Regions from separate parts of the Homo sapiens genome. Here region 1 is linked to region 2. Evidence: promoter capture Hi-C in human tissues and cell types (Jung and others, 2019). All regions are on one chromosome and are shown on one strand. The core of a region is centred on a gene start or on the middle of the fragment in contact, and the rest is flanking DNA. Distances in the headings are between cores, read along the strand shown. Region 1 overlaps LOC107984257 (a long non-coding RNA gene). Region 2 holds the start of CYP2C18 (cytochrome P450 family 2 subfamily C member 18).

The links. The method cuts DNA at HindIII sites, captures the fragments that hold promoters and counts their contacts. A contact is called where the count stands out against the background at its distance.
Region 1: a fragment that was not itself captured here is called in contact with the fragment with the promoter of CYP2C18 in region 2 in 1 of the 25 tissues and cell types used here (mesendoderm cells).

The regions. Positions count from the first base shown.
Region 1 is chr10:95,179,408-95,184,612 of GRCh38, reverse strand. The region is part of intron 3 of LOC107984257 (a long non-coding RNA gene); the gene reads left to right. It also overlaps the pseudogene PAWRP1. Among named protein-coding and RNA genes, the nearest start is that of ACSM6, 12 kb to the left of the region's middle. RefSeq lists silencers at 390-439, 460-789, 980-1,279. The HindIII fragment of the contact is 3,205 bases long and covers 1,903-5,107 here.
Region 2 is chr10:94,680,609-94,685,429 of GRCh38, reverse strand. It overlaps CYP2C18 (cytochrome P450 family 2 subfamily C member 18), which reads right to left and starts at 1,701. Exons shown (of 9, transcript NM_000772.3): 1 at 1,443-1,701. The coding sequence starts at 1,610. The HindIII fragment of the contact is 11,159 bases long and covers 1-4,821 here.

The DNA.
Region 1 (5,205 bases), core at 2,256-4,755, 500 kb before region 2:
CCGGGTTCAAGCAATTCTCCTGCCTCAGCACACCCTAGTAGCTAGGATTACAGGCGCGCGCCACCACGCCCGGCTATTTTTTTGTATTTTATTTAGAGACGGGGCTTTGCCATGTTGGCCAGACTGGTCTCGAACTCCTGACGTCAGATGATCTACTCGCCTCTGAGCTTCTGATTTTTAATCCTTCCTAGCCCAGCTCCCCGCCATCCCCCCACCCCCGCCGTCCCCCCATTCTGCCTCACTTCCTCCTTTCCTGATTCCCACAATTTCCCACAATCAGTCTTGGCCTCAGATTCCCACCCTTCAGGTGCCAGGGTTCCTTGGGTCCTCCATCTCCCCTGATCCTCTCTGATTAGGGGCACGGGGTGTGAGTTGGAATTAAAGCCAGCGTTTGAGTCCTGGGGCTGGATTCTGCATTGGGTTCCGTTGTGTCATTGCACCTTCTCGTTTCCGCTCTTTCTGCCCTGCTTCCTCATCTTCAAAGTCATCTAAGATCCGCCAGCGGATGCTGACCCAGCCCGTGGAGCGCCGCTTCTCCGCACCTGCTGCTTCTCCATCTCTCCATCTTCTGCTCCTGGCCTTTTCCTGGCACTGGAGCCCGAGCTCTGAGCTCTTGCCCTTCTCTGGGGCCCCGTCCTGCTCCTCCTCGTCACCCTGGGGCGGCGGCCGGGGCCCCACGGGTCAGCGTGGCAGGGCCGACGGCGCAGTTCTCGCCCCGGGGCGGCGGCGGCGGCAGGTGCGGTGGGAGCGCCGCCTGGAGGTTGGTGTGGCGCTCATTGGTCGCGGAGGCCGCCGAGGTGTCCAGCGCCCAGGACCTGGGCTTCCTGTCTGCGTCGCTGCTGCCCCCTGCTGGGGCGGCGGGGCCCGGGTTCCGCTCTGCGGCGTGTTTTTGCGGGGCGCCTTCGCTCCTCCGGGAAGTCGGCGGTGCAGCCGCGGAGGCCGTTGTTGCTCTGGTAGCCGGTGGTTGTTTCATTCCCCTAGGGGCCGGCCGGGCTTTCGCCTCAGGCCGCCCACACCGGCTCCGGCCGCCGCCGCCTCTCGCTACCCGCGGCCCGGAGGAGGCGAGGGAACGACCTCCAGGCGCAGGGCGGCCGCCGCTCCCTCAGCAGCCGGCGGGGCAGAGGGAAAGACGCCGGGAAGCGTAAGGTCCCCGCCAGGCCCGAGGGTCGCCACGGACTTTGCCCTCTGGTTCCTGCCCAGGAGCAGCTGCCAGGTCCCCTCCCTGCCAAGCTTCTCCCCGAAAAGTTCTAAGGTTGTCAGGTCCGCCAGGAAGTGACATTTTTCTCCCCTCACTGTAAGGCTGGAAACTCTTGAATCCGGGCATTTTATGCATATTCTTAAATATGATGTTTCAGTCAAAGCCTTGATAATATAACCAATATTTCCGATTTTATCCTGCTTATAAAGAGCCGATATGTAAACGAAAATTAGAATATTTGTGAATAGTTTCCAAATTTTGGAGGGATCAAGTAGGGAGAAAAACCAAATGCTTCCACCTTTGTTTACAAGTGTGCTTTACCAAACTGATGTAAATTATAGATAACATCTGTGAGAAACCTTTCTTAAATCTAGAATACAACCAACAGTGTTTTAAATAAAAGTTATAAAAATATTATCTTAATTTCATAGATTTTTTGTTTTGCTTGATCTTGCTTAGCAGTTTTTTGAACCCTTAAGTTTATTAGAGTTCTAGGAATTTGTGTTTAGTTTATTTTTTTAAAACATTTGTTTTAATATATTTAAAGGGTATAAGTACAAGTTTCTTACATGCCTATATTGCATAGTGGTAAAGGCTGGGGTAGTTTATTGATCTGAAAGTTATCAGAAACCTGTGTTCAAGAGGACCTGTTAAGAGTTTTTTCCATGAAAAGCAAATTTGGACTATCGCTGATCGCAAATATTTTTCGAATTCAAAGCAGAACTGTGGATGATGGAAACAGAATAGCTATGATGAAAATCTGATGAAAGTTCCCAATTGACAAGGAAATTTAGTTACTTCTCTTACGTGCAGCATGTTAAGACAATAACCAGAATCATGACTGACAGCATCACATCAGGACCACCAGGCTTTTATAAATTTCATACAATCTTCAGAATGCATTAATAACATATTTATACAAATGTAACTTTAGCAAATATTTAGCGTAACAATCAAAATTATGAATCATTAAATTTTTATAAGTTTATATAATTTTTGGAACATGCGTGTCAATAACATACCTATAAATGTAACTGAAGTGGGATCTAATATCACATAATTTGACAATGCTCTCCCATGCAGTATCACAACATTTGACAATGCCCGCTCATACAGTCTACCAAATCTAATAATTTAATATCTCTACAAGGTGAGAGATCCATTCTTTAGACTCTCCAGGGACCCAGCTGAACAGTCCCGAAGTTAATTTTAAGACTTAATTTAGGATTTTTGACTCTGGGGAAACCTGTCAAAGATTGAAAACATTTGATCAAAACAGAATCACAGGTCACTGTTAAAAGAATAGTCATTTAACCAGAGACTTAAAAGCTATACAGAAAGTTATGTGGATATGAAAACTCGAACCCTTTTAAAGCTTAGTTTTCCTGAGTAATCAAAAAGGGTACTTGAATTTAATCAGACACAGGAAGAGTATGTACGGGGATATGAGTGTACACTGTATTTTAGAGGAATGTAAACAAGGAAATTAGTACCATGAGCCAGGGAATACATGGCTGTTAGTAACAGCATGGGAAGTTTCCTGGTTACATGGAACAACAATTTAGACATAGGAAGAAAAGCCAAAAGTACAGATTCAAGTTATGTTGGAGGAAAACATTGGTTTTCCAGACCTTCATGCTAACCATTTCAGTGTCAGGCCATAACAGCAGAACTAGAACCAGAGAAAAAATGTTACAGGAGTTGACAAAAATGTTGAAAGACAGAGCTACCACTGTTACCATTGTGGCCATGCAAAAAGATACACCTTTTTAAAGGGGGAGAAAACAGAAGGCAGTGGTTTATGACCTGCAATGTGGTACAGAGAAAGTTGAATTTCGGATATAAATCTGAGAAGTTTGAAAAAGAAAAATGTTACCTCTAGAAATGAAATGGCCATTCTGAAAGAAAGACACCGCATTTCCAATCTGAAACTAGGGAAGTTAGTTAGATCTCAGGAAGAATTAGAACTAGTTTAAATCTTCTATTAAATAAGATTTTAGAATTAAAAATAAAACCTCTTAAAATTTTACTAAGAGCAAATCAGTAAGCAAACTGTCATTCTAACATAGGGGACCAACTTATTTTGTTGTTTTGTATTAATGTATTTTAATGTCAAATTTCAATCTTTAGAAAGACTTCTGTTACCAAAATTACATCTTAATATCCATAACTTTCTTTACATCTGTCTCCTACTTACTAGTTCTTTTCTAGCTACTGTGAAACAACTTTTAAATGATCCCCAAATTCGATAAAAATATTCTTTTTCTCAATAAAATGTATTTTTTATGACTTTCTAATAATTTTTTTCTCACCAAGAACGCCTTATTTTTTGGCACATTGTATATATAGAATTATATGTACTAATTAAAAATTTTAACTCTTAGTAACCTTAAATTTTAGTGAAAATTTCCTTAATTTTTTAAGACGGAATCTCACTCTGTTGCCGAGGCTGGAGTGCAGTGGCATGATCTTGGCTCACTGCAACCTCCGCCTCCCGGGTTCAAGTGATTCTCCCACCTCGGCCTCCCAAGTAGCTGGGATTATGGGCATGCGCCACCACACCTGGCTAATTTTTTGTATTTTTGGTAAAGATGGGGCTTTGCCATGTTGGCCAGGCTGGTCTGGAACTCCTGACCTCAGATGATCTGCCCGCCTCAGCCTCCCAAAGTGCTGAGATTACAGAAATTTTATTTTTGTAATAAAAATAATTGTGAACCACCATGCCTAGCTGAAAGTAAGAAATTTTAAATTGTCTGTCACCTATCAGTATTTTATAGATAAGAACCATTTTATAATTTTTACAAACATATTCCCTAATATATATATATATATAATACACACACACACTTTTTTTTTTTTTCTTTTTTGAGACAGGGTCTGGCTCTGTCACCTGTGCTGGAGTGCAGTGGCACAGTCTCAGTTCACTGTAACCTTTGCTTTCTGGGCTCTAGTAATTCTTCGATTTCAGCCTCTCGAGTAGCTGGGACTACAGGCGTATGCAACCAGATCTGGTTAATTTTTGTATTTTTTTGTGGAGACTGGGTTTTGCTATGTTGCCCAGCCTGGTCTCGAACTCCTGAGCTCAAGCGATCCACCCAACTTGGCCTTCCAAAGTACTGAGATTACAGATGTGAGCCCCGGCCCACAGTGTGAGCCATGGCCCCTGGTCCCCTAGAACATAACTTTAAAATCTTATTTGGAAATGACCTACACATTTAATTAGTATCTATTATTTAATGTAACTTTAAGACATCAAGTTACATGAAAACTTTATAGACATTTTTCTCATTTACATTTAATTTTCTAACATTTACCTGGATTACCAGTGAGAACTGGGATATTAGACAAAACTCGATCTCATTTCAAGTTATTTCCCTGTTAATCATTTTTACAGCTTGTGAATATCAATGTTCACCTGATTAAGGACCTTGAAGTTAAATGTAGGAGCATGTTCCCAACAACTCAGAAGATACAGCTGTTTTTATTAAAGCAACAGTATTAAGTTAGTTTTGCTTATCAAATAATTATACAAAAATCACTTTGTTTTAGCCTGGGCTTACAGTTGTATAACCTTCATGTGAAACCCTGACACCTTAAAATATCTATCGGAGACAAATATTAAAGTAACCAGTAAACCCAGGCAGAAATATATGCTGACAATTCTAAAGACATTTTTATTTTTACCAATAATTTAAAAATGAGCTTCAGTAAATAAATAAAATCAAATAATAAAAATAAAATAATAATAAAAAGATTTATTTAAGTCATGTGAACTAAAAGGCATTTGGTAATTATTATATATTTTGTACTTTATATGAGTACTCATTTATCTTTAAGGAATTTCTGGCTGACTATGCCAGATTTCACCATGTAGACATAATATGTAACATGATACATGTGCTTCTATATGAACACATCTAAACACATATGTATACACACAAAAAATAAAAATCTCATCGCTTTTATTTTAGAATTTTGGTTGTGAGATAGTAATACAAACTCACTGG
Region 2 (4,821 bases), core at 452-2,951:
GCAAAACTAGACAAATGAGATTCTGACCACCCAAAATACTTAGAAACTCAAATTACTCAATAACAAATAAATAATTCTATTTAAAACGAGCAAAGGGGTCAAGTGCAATGGCTCATGTCTGTAATTCCAGCACTTTGAGAGACAAAGGTGGGTGGATTGCTTGAGCCCAAGAGTTCAAGACCAGCCTGGACAACATAATGAGACCACATCTCTACAAAGCATTAAAAAATTATCCAGGCATGGTGGCATACACCTGTAGCCCCAGCTACTTGGGGGTCTAAGGTAGAAGGATGGCTTGAGCCCAGGAGCTCAAGGCTGCAGGGACCATGATCCCATCACTACACTCCATCCTACAACAGAGCAAAACCCTGTCTCTATTAATTAATTAATTAATTAATTAATTAAATGGGCAAAGGATTTGAGTAGACATTTTTCAAAAAAAGACATACAAATGGCCAAGATATATTTTTTAAATACTCAACAAATTTAATCATCAGAGAAATGCAAATTAAAACCACAATGAGATAACTCATCACAACTCATAGATAAGATATTATTATTATCAAAAAGATAAAAAGATAACAAGTGTTGACAAAGATGTGGAATAAAGTGAACCTTGGGTATGTAAATTAGCATTGTGATTTGAGAAAACAGTATGGATGTTCCTAAAAAAAACAAAAATAGAACTATCAGATGATCCAGCAATCCCACTACCAGTATATACCCAAAGGAATTGAAGTCAGTATGTGGAAGACATGTCTGTACTTCCATGTTTATTGCAGTGCTATTGACAATAGCCAAGATATGGAAACAACCTAAGTGTTCATCAATAAATTAATGGATTTTGTATGTGACATATATGTACAATGAAATGCTATTCAGCCTTTTAAAGAGGAAAAAATATTCTTATTTATGACGGCATGGATGAATCTACAGAACATCATATTAATTAAATAAGCCAGGCAGAGAGAGGCAAATATCATATATGATCTCACTTCTATGTGGAATCTTAAAAAGTTAAACTCAGAGAAGTAGAGATTAGAATGGTGGCTACCAGAGGCTGGCAGGTGGAGATGGGCCAAATAAGGGGATACGTTGGTCAACAGGTACAGAGTTACACTTAGATAGGAGGAATAAGCTCGGGTGTTCTATTGGACAGCAAGGTGACTATAATTAATATTAATGTACTGTATATTTCAAAACAGCTAAAAAAGAGGATTTTAAATGTTCTCACTACAAAGAAATGACAAATATTTGAGATGATGGATATGCTAATTACCCTGATATGATCAATTCACAATCTATACATGTATCAAAATGTAATATTGTACCCCATTAATATATACAATTATCATTTATCACTTTAAAATGAAATAAAACTTTAAGAATTGTGAGGTTAAATACACCTTGTACATTACTGGAGGAACATAAAGCATACTTACATTGGTTAAGGATTTGCTCATGTCCTTAACATCTAACTGCAGGATATTTCCAATAATCGGGAGAGGAGTGGGGCCAGACGGGAGCCTCCCTCTTCCAGAGCTCTGCCTCCAGAGTGAAAGGAGAAACAAACAGGAGAGACAGAGCACCAGAGCCACAGCTGGATCCATTGAAGGCTTCTCTTCTTAGTAAGACAACTGCGGGCTTTCACTTCAAGGCTTTTATAACACTCCCTACTAATCCACCTGTGATTCTGACTCTGACTGTGACTAGTCAGCAAAAAGCACTTTAATCTCTCTTTTGAATGAACATTGGCTCACTGAAGAAGATAAAAATAAGGTGTTCTTTTTTCTTGTTCTTTCCGGTGCCCCACCCTGGAGATTCTGGTTTAACTAGTCTGAAGCAGAGCCCAGGATTTTGTTGTTGTTGTTGTTGTTTTTCCTTGAGATGGAGTTTCGCTCTTGTTGCCCAGGCTGGAGTGCAATGGCAAGATCTCAACTCACTGCAGCCTCCACTTCCTGGATTCGAACGATTCTGCCTCAGCTTCTGGCGTGGCTGGGATTACAGGAATGCACAACTACGCCCAGGTGATTTTGTATTTTTAGCAGAGACAGGGTTTCACCATGTTGGCCAGGCTGGTCTCCCTAAGTGCTGGGATTACAGGCATGAGCCACCGTGCCTGGCTAGGCCTAGGTTTTTTCAAACAGCCCAGGTGGTTCCACTGTGCAGCCAAAATTGAGAAACAATGAAATAAATTATTTCATCAAAAAATTATTCAAAATTTTGGATTTTTAGATTGATGAGCAGTTGGAAATATGACTTTGAGGGCAATCTGTGTATTATATTCCTTGTACATAAAATAATGTTTATCCTATTGAGAGGAGTTAGCCAGCTTGCATTAGGCAGGCAGTAAGGGAAGGGTCCCCAGAGAACCTCCAACCCTTCCAGGTCATTGCCCAATCCACAAAAACCCCAAGTACTTACACTAGATGTTTTGTGCAGATAAGGGAACTTGCACAGGGAGCTTGCCTAAATATGCCCACAGTGAAAAATTCCTACCTTTAACACATGCGCAGGAAGGGAAATAAATCAATATGGAGTGGCTTAGACTAAGAGCCCACACGCGCAATGGAAGGAAGGGGTGGAAACACCAGGAATTCACGCCTTATGCAAATAAGTATCCCAGCCTCATCAGCTTTTCTATAAAAGTCCTGGTATTCAACTGTGAAGTGGCAATCTGCAACCTGCTTTCAGGGCCTCTCTCTTTGCTGAGAGTTTTCCTTTCACTTAATAAATTCTACTCCACTCACTCTCCAGTGTCTGTGTGCCTAATTCTTCCTGCATAAGACAACTCGGACCTAGCTGAGCTAAGGATCTGCAAGACTGCAACACTATAATGCTTTCTCAAACACTAGATCATTTTCCTTGAAAATGAGATCCTTTTGAAATATTTTAATGTAGTACTAACATTACAGCTGCCTAAACATAAAGCAGCTAACAAACTCATTCATCTTAAATGGCTAAACCGGTTATCAATTAACTAAGTAAACATACACACCTTTTTCCATTAAACCCCGTGAAAAACACTGGACGGCTGAGAATATTATTTCATATTTTCCAAATGGGGAAAGGGAGACTCTAGGAGAACAGATGACCTGTCCAGTGTCCCACAGCTCATAAATGGCAGGCTGGGATTTGAACTGAGATCTTCTGACGCCCGCTGTGGTATATTCTCACTTACACCAGAGCTGCCTTGAGAACAGTTTTAGCAAAATAAAATAAATCCTAAAAACATTTCTCACTCTGAATCTACACCACACTGTTCACAAAATAACAGGGTTGTACATTCTCAAGAGAAGAAATAAAAGCTAGGGTTTCTCCCCTCTCTGTCACTGAAGAGCTGAAACCTACTCAGTATAACTGAGGAAAGAGCCAATCTCAGAGAATTAAGTGGGTAAGATCTCAGAAACTATGGCTTCTCCAGCTCCCACTTGCCTCCAGACACTGCTGTTTCTATTGCTTTTTTGGTCTGTGTCAGAAATAATGGAATGAAATATTGCACAGCAAGGAAGGGGAATTATAGGCAGAACAACAGGCATGTGCTTCAGTGGTGAATGGGAGGTAGGGAAATCATTAAACAGACCCATGGCACAGAACAAACACAGTTGTGCAGACCTGAACTGGAGATGACATTTAGCGCTCATGAGGCTCTATATATCACTAAAATGATACATACATTTCTAGATCACTAATGGCAATGCTTGTACAAAGGCATATTCTGTAAAGATGTCATTGTGGTATTCTAAATGACTAGTACAGTTATTTGTTTATTTCCATTGTATATATTTAAGGTATACAACATTGGTAGACATATAAACAGTGGAATCATTACTATGGTTAAACAAATTTACATATTAATCAATTCTATAATTAACTTCTTTTTTGTGGTATAAGCACCTAAAATCTACTCTTTTAGCAAATTTTCAGTATAGTATATTAACTATAGTCCTCTTGCTGTTTATTAGATCTTTAGACTTATTCATCCTATCTAACCACAAATTTGGCTCTTTGACACACTTTTTTCCATTTCCTCTGGCTCCCACTTTTGGTAACCACCATTCTACTCTCTGTTTCTATGTATTTGACTTTTTAAAGATTCTTCATATAAGTGAAATCATGCAATCTTTTTTCCTCTGTATCTAGCTCATATCACTTAGCATAATATCCTTCAGGTTCATTCCATGTCATTGCAAATGGCAGTATCTCCTTTTAAAGTTTAAAAAATATTTCATTGTGTATATAAATATAAAACACAATTTCTTCATCCATTTATTTGTGAATGAACACTTAGATTGTTTCTACATCCTGGCTATTGGAAATAATACTGGATTAGTGCAGTTATTTCTAACTGCAGTAAGGAAAAATTAAGTTTTGTCAAATCCCATATGGACAATGTTTTATCAAACATGTTTACAGGGATTCTGACAATTCACAGAGAATTTTTATACCCATCATAACTCTTTTGATTCTCTCAATTACCCTTGCCTGTGGTAAAATTATTTCCACTTTAGAGGTAAGGAAGCTGGGCCTTGGAGATTCAGTATTTTGTTCAAGGACACAGAGGCTGAAAATGATAGGGCTGAGGCTGGAAACCTATCTCCTAACTCTGACATCATTCCCTCCAAGCAAGAAATTCAGTTCAACTAGAGTCACCAACATTTACTTACCATGTACTATGAGGCAATATTTCACTACTCAGGATAATCAGTGACTTTCAAATACACATTAACCAACTCAACAGTTGCAACATAGGTTGATTACAATTAGGGTGTGGTTTTGTAACCTTTAGAATTTGAGTCAGTCGAGGTTTTGGTGAATAAT